Linked DNA regions of Homo sapiens: region 2 is linked to region 1. Evidence: promoter capture Hi-C in 16 types of primary human blood cells and fetal thymus (Javierre and others, 2016). All regions are on one chromosome and are shown on one strand. The core of a region is centred on a gene start or on the middle of the fragment in contact, and the rest is flanking DNA. Distances in the headings are between cores, read along the strand shown. Region 1 overlaps ZNF778 (zinc finger protein 778). Region 2 holds the start of RNF166 (ring finger protein 166).

Region 1 (4,222 bases), core at 599-3,098:
GAGATCACAAGAAAGGGAAAATCCAGATCAGATGGAAAATAAGGAATTACGGGAAGCTCAGGATACCCAGAGCCAACAGCCTCATGTTCTGTGCCAGAATGCATCTTAAAACGTGCACTCAGGATTCTTCCACAGCCGCTAAACTCGACACTCAGGATCCTCCCACAGCCGCTTAACTTGACACAATCCTTCCATAGCCGCTAAACTTGACACTCAGGATCCTCCCACAGCTGCTAAACTTGACATCGACCAGGCGTGCTCTTCACACTTACCTTGGAGAACTGCTCTCCGCCCTGCCCTCAACTCCTCTTCCTGCTCCAGCCAATAGATCACACTGGGTTGGAACAGGTGATGTCCTGTACACAGGGAAAGAGACATCGATGGAAGAGGCTCAGGCAGGGGATGACAAACCTACCCGTGAACAGGAACTACATTTCCTTTTTTTTATTATTTTTTGAGACAGCGTCTCGCGCTGTTGCCCAGGCTGGAGTGCAGTGGTGCAATCTCGGCTCACTGCAACGTCTGCCTCCTGGGTTCAAGTGATTCTCTTGCCTCAGCCTCCTAAGTAGCTGGGACTATAGGTGCCCGCCACCACGCCTGGCTAGTTTTTTGTATTTTTAGTAGAGATGGGGTTTCACCGTGTTGGTCAGAATGGTCTCAATCTCCTGACCTTGTGATCCGCCCACCCCGGCCTCTCAAAAGTGCTAGGATTACAGGCATGAGCCACTGCGTCTGGCGTCCCAGAGTGCTCGGATTACAGGCGTGAGCCACTGCGCCCAGCCTCCCAAAGTGCTGGGATTACAGGCATGAGCCACTGCGTCCAGCATCCCAGAGTGCTGGGATTACAGGCGTGGCCACCACACCCTGCCTCCCAGAGTGCTGGGATTACAGCCCTGAGCCACTGCGCCTGGCCTCCTAGAGTGCTGGGATTACAGCCCTGAGCCACTGCACCCAGCCTCCCAGAGTGCTCGGATTACAGCCCTGAGCCACTGCACCCAGCCTCCCAGAGTGCTCGGATTACAGCCCTAAGCCACTGCGCCTGGCCTCCCAGAGTGCTGGGATTACAGCCCTGAGCCACCGCGCCCGGCCTCCCAGAGTGCTGGGATTACAGCCCTGAGCCACTGCACCCAGCCTCCCAGAGTGCTCGGATTACAGGCATGAGCCACCGCGCCCGGCCAGGAACTACGTTTGTTTTTTTTTTGAGATGGAGTCTCGCTCTGTCACCCAGGCTGGAGTGCAGTGGCATGCCAGGAACTACATTTCTAAAGAATGCAGTGAAATTGTTTCAAAAGGGCTCAAAGTGCAAATACTCCATCCTTCTGCGCCCCAAAGAAACTGGTTATCTCTGATTCCTGAAGCCCACATTCAGGCTTAAATATACACGTAAAAACCACAAAGACTCTTACTCAAATAGGAAATAACAGAAGTGCAATAAGAGATCTTCATTCACTTGGGAAACTACTACCCAGTGGTTCTCAGTGTTAGAGTGAATTGGCATCGTCGGGAGGGCTTGTTACAGGAGAGATGACAGGCCCACCCCCAGGAGACATTCTGATCCAATGTGTCCCAGCTGAAGCCTCAGAATGCATGTTTCTAGAGGAGTGACGGTGATGCTCATGACCCCAGGACCACATTCTGGAAACGACCACACTAGCACCAAGCCTACTAGCACAGTTGTTATATCTCTTACTTCCCGTGGTACTCGGCTTTGCCGTCACCAACCCTGGAACACAGTAAGGACACATCAAGTATTGGTTCCACAGAAGTTGCAAAGGACGGTGGCAGCCTCACCTACTGAGGCCAGGTTCTCGTAGTTTTCCAGCATCACATCTCTGTAGAGGTCTCTCTGAGATGGGTCCAGTAAAGTCCATTCCTCCTGGGTGAAGTCCACAGCCACGTCGTCAAAGGTCACCGCGTCCTAAATCATCACACATGACGGTTGGAGCCTTCCAACGTGTCCATCGGTATTCACTGAAGAATGAGGAGGCGGGGCCCTACGCCTATGGGACTGTGAGGCCTCCTACTGTCTACCCCATGGCCCAGTGGTCCCAGGAACCCTTCTCTGCCCGCACACACGCCCTGTCGCTCTCCTCCAGTCACGCGCACCCTGTCGCTCTCCTCCAGTCACGCGTGCCCTGTCGCGCTCCTCCAGTCACGCGCACCCTGTCGCTCTCCTCCAGTCACACGGCCGCAACGACACCTCTAACATGTGAGCTTCTCTCACCACGCTCACTGGGCACTCCCCTCGCCTTATGTCCCTCTCCTGAGCACACTACAAACAAGTGGTAACTCGTGATGTGGAAATAAGTTCCCAGAGAGGATACCTTCCCCTTCCTTACCATGTGTCAGAGCACTAAGCAAAGTACGAAACACGCATTTGGCACAAGGGTGAAAATAATGAGTAATGTTGTGGCTGGGCGCAGTGGTGCAAGCCTGTAATCCCAGCCCTTTGGGAGGCCAAAGCGGGTGGATCACTTGAGATCAGCAGTTCAAGACCAGCCTGGCCAACATGGCAAAACCCCGTCTCTACTAAAAATACAAAAATTAGCCAGGCATGCTGGTGGGCACTTGTAATCCCAGCTACTTGGGAGGCTGAGGCAGGAGAATTGCTTGAACCTGGGAGGCGGAGATTGCAGTGAGCCGAGATTGGGCCATTGCTCTCCAGCCTGGGCGACAAAGCGAGACTCCGTCTCAAAAAAAAAAAGTAACACTGAAATACGGGGAGGATTTTCACAGTAACACCTGACCAGCCAGGCTCTTCTCCCTGGAGGCGTTCAACTAGGGACTCGGTCCTTGAGTGAGGCTGTGCAGACAAGTCTGCTCAGACAGAAACTTGTCTATCTGCTGAATACCAGTATGTTATTTTAAGAAAAAATACAGTTTTGGCATACCTGGTAACAATTTATCAGCCAGCCAGCCACCATCCCTGCTGCCTGTGTCTGTTCTTCATGAAGGCAGACTGAGTCCCTAGAAACATGACCTCCTAAAAAACAAAGAAGGCAAGAAGGCATGAGAACCCAGAGCTGACCCTAATTCCACACTCATGGACCCGGAAGTCATTCCATCCTAGCAGGAAATTATCACGTACTCCTGCACACTCAGGAAAACGCACACACACAGATATACAGTGTCAGGGAATTCCCACATACACCTGCACACTCAGGAAAACACACACACAAAGCCATACAGTACCTCAGGAAAACACACACACACACACAGCCATACACTTCCTCAAGAAAACACACACACACACAGCCATACACTGCCTGAGGAACACACACACACACACACAGTCATACAGAGCGAGGGAATTCCCATGTACTCTTGCACACTCAGGAAAAGACACACACAGCCATACAGTGCCTCAGGAAAACACACACATACAGCCATAAACTGCCTCAGGAAAATACACACACACACAGCCATACAATGCCTCAGGAAAATATAGTCCCTCAGGAAAATACACACACACACACACACACACACACACAGCCATACAGTGCCTCAGGAAAACACACACACAGAGCCATACAGTGCCTCAGGAAAACACACACAGACACACACACAGCCATACAGTGCCAGGGTAGTCTGTTTCGCCTGGTGACACAAAATGTTTGTGAGCTATGCCGCCCATCAGGAAATGGTAACAGGCTCCTATTGCAGATATGGAACGGTACGCCTTGAGGAACGTGACTCTTCATTTGCCCGTGGTGAGAAAACTCATGAAGGAGTTTACACATCATCCCTCCCCAAAGCACACACCCTGGGGCTGACTTACAGGTCAGCATTCTCTGGCTCACTCCAGCAGCTGCAATAGGAACCCGGAGCGTGACTACTCAGGCCCCGTCCATGGGCCTGATACACACACTGTGTATCAGGACCTAGAGCAGAGGCTCTGAGAAGGAGCCCCACCAGGACTTACCGTGGGCCAGGTCAGGGGCTGCCATCCTGGGAGGCTGACGGAAGCGTCTGAATGCTCCTTTCCTGAAGCCAAGGCCACTGCAGGGCAGCTTGTGAATCTATGTGGAAGGTACAGTCTCCATTCCTCCTGACCCACGGATGGCTGGATCCCTATTTCCTAGCAATCATGATGAAGAAGCATTACTTCCCAGTTATCAAACCTCACGCATTAGCTTGTTTCTGCAGATGATATATGTGAAAGCCACTATATCCACTTTACTCTCTTGAGGACTAGTAATATCCACGTCACCTACTGAAGAGC
Region 2 (4,533 bases), core at 900-3,399, 520 kb after region 1:
GACCCCCAGGACCCAGCTTTGGGCGTGGGGAGTCTCATACAAGGAGACACAGGTGCTGGGCTTCACCTCCGCACTGTGGACCAGGAGAGCCTCTGCGCCCTACACCACCAGCTGGGATTCAAGCGTGGTGGGTCCACGTGTACATGCTGCGTCTGGGCTCCTGAAACCACGCTGTCCCCTGTGGGTCAGGGAAGGCCAAGGTTTCTCCCACGTGCTGACCTGAATGATCCCTGGGGATCCCAGCTCGATGTAGATTCCTAAGGCCTTCCCCTAGAGAGCCGGCTCCCCACTGTTCCTTGGGACCAGCAAGCACAGCAAAAGCCCTTCTGGCCACAAGGGCCTAGCATACAGCCACAGCAGCCTCTCCTCAGTGAATTCTGCCGGCAGCCTGGTGTTCTTGGCAATTTCAGATGCTCCTGGGTGGTTAAAGAAGTACCTATCTTGGCCAGGTGTGGTGGCTCATGCCTGTAATCCCAGCACTTTGGGAGGCCGAGGCAGGTGGATCACTTGAGGTCAGGAGTTCGAAACCAGCCTGGCCAACATGGTGAAACCCTGTCTCTACTAAAAATACAAAAACAATTGGCCGGGCATGATGGCAGGCACCTGTAATCCCAGCTACTCAGGAGGCTGAGGCAGGAGAATCACTTGAACCCAGGAGGTAAAGGTTGCAGTGAGCTGGGATCATGCACTCCAGCTGTTGCACTCCAGCCTGGGTGACAGAGGGAGACTCCATCTCAAAAAAAACAACAACAACAACAAAAAAACCACGCACCACCACTGGGAATTAAGAGGGCTAAAAGGAGAGAGACCTGGTCCTCCCTTCAGGGAGCTATGAGTCTAGTGGAAACAACTGAACAATACAATGGCTACAAGCCAAGAAAGACATGACAAGCGCCTGGGGGAAAGCTAGAGGTCTTCCAAGCCTCTATCCTGCCACAGATGAAACAAGCATCTCACACGAGATTAAAAACTTTCACCCAGACCATCTGCCAAGTTCCCAAGATGCTCTGATCCGCCCCTAGATGTATTCCAGCTGCCCCCAAACGCCTGGTCCTCCTACAGCTTATCCCAGTCTAGACACCACGGCCCCACTTCCAACTGTCCCCATAAGTTCCATCAGAAACCTCATCAGGGGATCTGTGGCTAGCTCATGGGAAACTTTCCCAAGCAGGAAACCAATGCTTTCGCCTCCACTTCAACACCAGGGGCACGAGGGACCCCATCAGGAGCAGGAATAAAGTAAGTACATGTTTTTAAAAAGAATTAACAAAGCATCACAAGTTGCGGCTATCCTGTCTGCTAGCGAGGCCATGTTTGCCAGGGTCTCAGCCACCTCCAGGCCTCACCTGCAGAAGGCATCTCCGGCTCGTATCACCACAACGGGCTGCGCTTCCTTGCACTTCACACACTTCTGCTCACGGCTTTGGAGATGGGAGGGGGGAGAAGAGAGAAACACAGATCACATCTTCCCCACGCCTAGTGGGCTTTGGGGAGACAGCTCCTGTTTCTCACCCTGAGTTGGGTCAGAGAAAGGCACCTCGGTACACACACAAACCCAGGCTTGTGTTCTGTCCAAACTTCAAGAAAAACAAAGGCTCTGGGGGGATGTTTAGCCTAGAAAAGCCGGCTCAGGGGGCACATAAAGGCCGCTTTTCAGTCTCCCAAGGCTGACACGGGGAGGCGAGACAGCTTCACGGCACCAGTTCTCTCCGAATAAGGACAGCACTGTCAGCGGCAGAGCCGTCCCCAGTGGCTGCTAGGATGAGAGGCGCGAGCCAGTGGAGTAAGTCCCCTTCTAGGTGGCCGTCACCGCTTGACAGGCATTCCCCGAGTGCTAGGGAGCGAGGTCCCGCTCTCCACGCGGGGCTTCCCGGAGCAAGCCCGGCCGGGACCCTTCGGGGCAGGAGTGCGGCGGGAAGGCGAGGGGCGGCCTGGCGGGTCCGGCCGCCAGCTCTTACCTGGGCCGCGGCGCCGGGGGCGGCTCCTCAGGCGCCGGCTCCCCGTAGTCCTCGCCCACCTGACACATGGGCACGCCGGGTCCCGTCGCAGACTGTGGCGGCGACAGCGCGAGGGCGCGCCCCGATGACGTCGGAGTGGCGCCGTGACGGCCGCGAAGCCCGGCTGGGGGCGGCGCCCTACGATGACGTCAGCGCGGCGCAGTAGCGGCTGTGACTAGCGGGCCGGCCCGGGCCAGGACAGCGGGCGGCGGGCGGCGCGGGCCTGGCCCCGGGATGGCTATGTTCCGCAGCCTGGTGGCCTCGGCTCAGCAGCGGCAGCCGCCGGCCGGGCCGGCGGGCGGCGACAGCGGCCTGGAGGCGCAGTACACCTGCCCCATCTGCCTGGAGGTCTATCACCGGCCCGTGGCCATCGGCAGCTGCGGCCACACGTGAGCGCGCCCGCCCAGGGGCCGCGGGGAGGGGGCCGTGCCCCGCCGCGGGAGGGGTCGCGAGGCCGGCGGCCGCCCCGGTGCAGCTCCGGACTGGGCGCGCGGGGACTCGGGGCGCCGGGGCCTCGGGGCGCGTGGGGTCCGGGTTTCCCTGTGCCGCGCCGCCTCTGCCCTCTGGGCGCGTTCATCCCCCGCCCAGCCTCCTTCGCGCCAGCCGCAGGCGCCCGGTCCGACTGCTGCTTCGGTTCACCGGGCGACCTGCGGCCCTGCCCAAGCTCGGGGTCCCCGGCGGCTGCGGCGGGCGCTCCGGTACTCAGAGGGCAGCAGGTGCCACCGCTCCGCCAGTGGTGGTGGATTTGGGCTTGTGCGGCTGGAATGGGCAGTTGTAAATAAATAACTTGTAGTTTTTGCTATCAACTCTTGTTCGGACCCGCTGTCTGCCTGTTTTGACTACAGAGGAAAGGAGTTCCCTAAAGTTTAGAGGGGCTTGTTTGGAGTCTGATGTTCTTAGTTTTGTTTGAAGGAGAACTTGAGTCACACCGATCACTGAGTAGCCAGGCAGGCTGGTCCACAGAGGAGCAGACACTGACCACCTTGCTGGGGTTTCCAGCTGCACCAGGGCTCACAGCCGGCTCCTCCAGGGTGTTTCAGGAACAGAAACTGGAGGACGTGGCTCTCCTGGCGGGGAGCTGTGCTCAAGTATTCTGGAGCTGCCAGCCCCGTTGGGAGGAAGCCTAGATCAGTGTCTGCTCCCTCCTAAGTGCTGAATAATACAGCTCTTGAGCAAAATCAGCAGTGGCAGGGGAGAGAGAGAGCAGGAGGGCTTCCCCGCAGACATCCAAGCTGCTGAGGTGGTGGAGTGGAGGGGGGTGCACCCAGACTGGTAGGAGGCTCTAGAACATTTTGCAAGCAAAGTCAGCTGACTTCAGGGGCTCCTGGTACAGAGGGAGCTGGGACTGCTAGGTGGATGTGTGCTGGTCACCCACGGAGGTGGCAGGGCCAGTGTCAGGATGCAGAGCTGCCTTCATTACCTGTGTCAGGCAGCACAGGCGCCTGCCCACGCTGGGACAGCTCTACCTACTTCTCTTGTGAGGCTGCTACAGGCTCTGCCCCTGCTCCTCCATCTCACTTAGCCGTGACATTTTGGGGGGGCAGCCTCTGAACGGGAATATTTTTTTTTGAGACAGAGTCTTGCTCTTGTCACCCAGCCTGGAGTGCAGTGGCGCCATCTCGGCTCACCGCAACCTCCATCTCCTGGGTTCAAGTGATCCTCCTGCCTCAGCCTCCAGAGTAGCTGGGATTACAGGCACCCGCCACCACGCCCGGCTAATTGCTGTATTTTTAGTAGACAAGGGGTTTCACCATGTTGGCCAGGCTGGTCTCGAACTCCTGACCTCCGGTGACCTGCCCGTCTCAGCCTCCCAAAGTGCTGGGATGACAGGCGTGAGCCACCGCGCCTGGCAGGACTTCCTTCTTGTGAGCAGGTAGCGGGTGTTTGAAGGTGTGTTCCGCACCTTCTCATCTGTTACTGAGCGCTGTGAGGCTTGACTTAGGCCTTGTTTTAGAAAAGCCTCCCGTAGGCTTTGGGTGCCAACACCTTCACCGTGTGGTCGGCCACAGCATCTCCACTTTCCTAACCTGCACAAATTGGTCTTTGCCCTTCTTTTTCAAATATGTCTTTTCCTAAAATGTAGTTTCCATAACACAGAATGCAGAACCACATGGAATTGTGGAGCATCTTTCCTATAAAACTCCCCTCTGCCATGCTTTTCTTGGTAGAATGACGACCATCCTAGTCTCACCGCGGGTCCTGCAAGAGCTTTTCACACAGCCTTTGCCTTTCAAAGATTTTTCTCCCCGACTTTTCCTGCTGGCTTTTGTTTTCTGGCTGTTCTCTCTCTGCTTCTAACTTTGTTTCTTGTTGGTGTTGCTAAGGCATGCATGCAAATGACCACAGAAAGTTTAAAGGCTCTTCAGGTTCCCTTCGGAAGTTTGTTGCTGGTCTGGTTCTGTCCCCTCCGCAAGCTCCCCAACCAGAGCAACTTCCTCCTCCAGGGTAGATCTCTCATGGCAAGAGTATCCCAGTGTGGGGGCATGCACCCTGCTCTAGCCCTCGCGCAGGAGGCCCCCTGGGGGCCCAGCAGGAG

Evidence for each region. Contacts are between HindIII fragments. The CHiCAGO score rates a contact against its expected background, and 5 or more counts as called.
Region 2: the fragment with the promoter of RNF166 here is called in contact with a fragment that was not itself captured in region 1 in 1 of 17 cell types (naive CD4 T cells); the score reaches 6.0 in naive CD4 T cells.

The regions. Positions count from the first base shown.
Region 1 is chr16:89,220,853-89,225,074 of GRCh38, reverse strand. ZNF778 (zinc finger protein 778) reads right to left here. Exons shown (of 7, transcript NM_001201407.2): 2 at 3,923-4,078; 3 at 2,892-2,983; 4 at 1,792-1,918; 5 at 273-356. The coding sequence starts at 3,947. Among named protein-coding and RNA genes, the nearest start is that of ZNF778, 5.3 kb to the right of the region's middle. The HindIII fragment of the contact is 7,033 bases long and covers 1-4,222 here.
Region 2 is chr16:88,704,024-88,708,556 of GRCh38, reverse strand. It overlaps RNF166 (ring finger protein 166), which reads left to right and starts at 2,149. Exons shown (of 6, transcript NM_178841.4): 1 at 2,149-2,386. The coding sequence starts at 2,232. It overlaps CTU2 (cytosolic thiouridylase subunit 2), which reads right to left and starts at 2,054. Exons shown (of 15, transcript NM_001012759.3): 1 at 1,959-2,054; 2 at 1,347-1,421. The coding sequence starts at 2,026. RefSeq lists silencers at 1,786-2,095, 2,136-2,415 and an enhancer at 2,037-2,674. The HindIII fragment of the contact is 28,082 bases long and covers 1-4,533 here.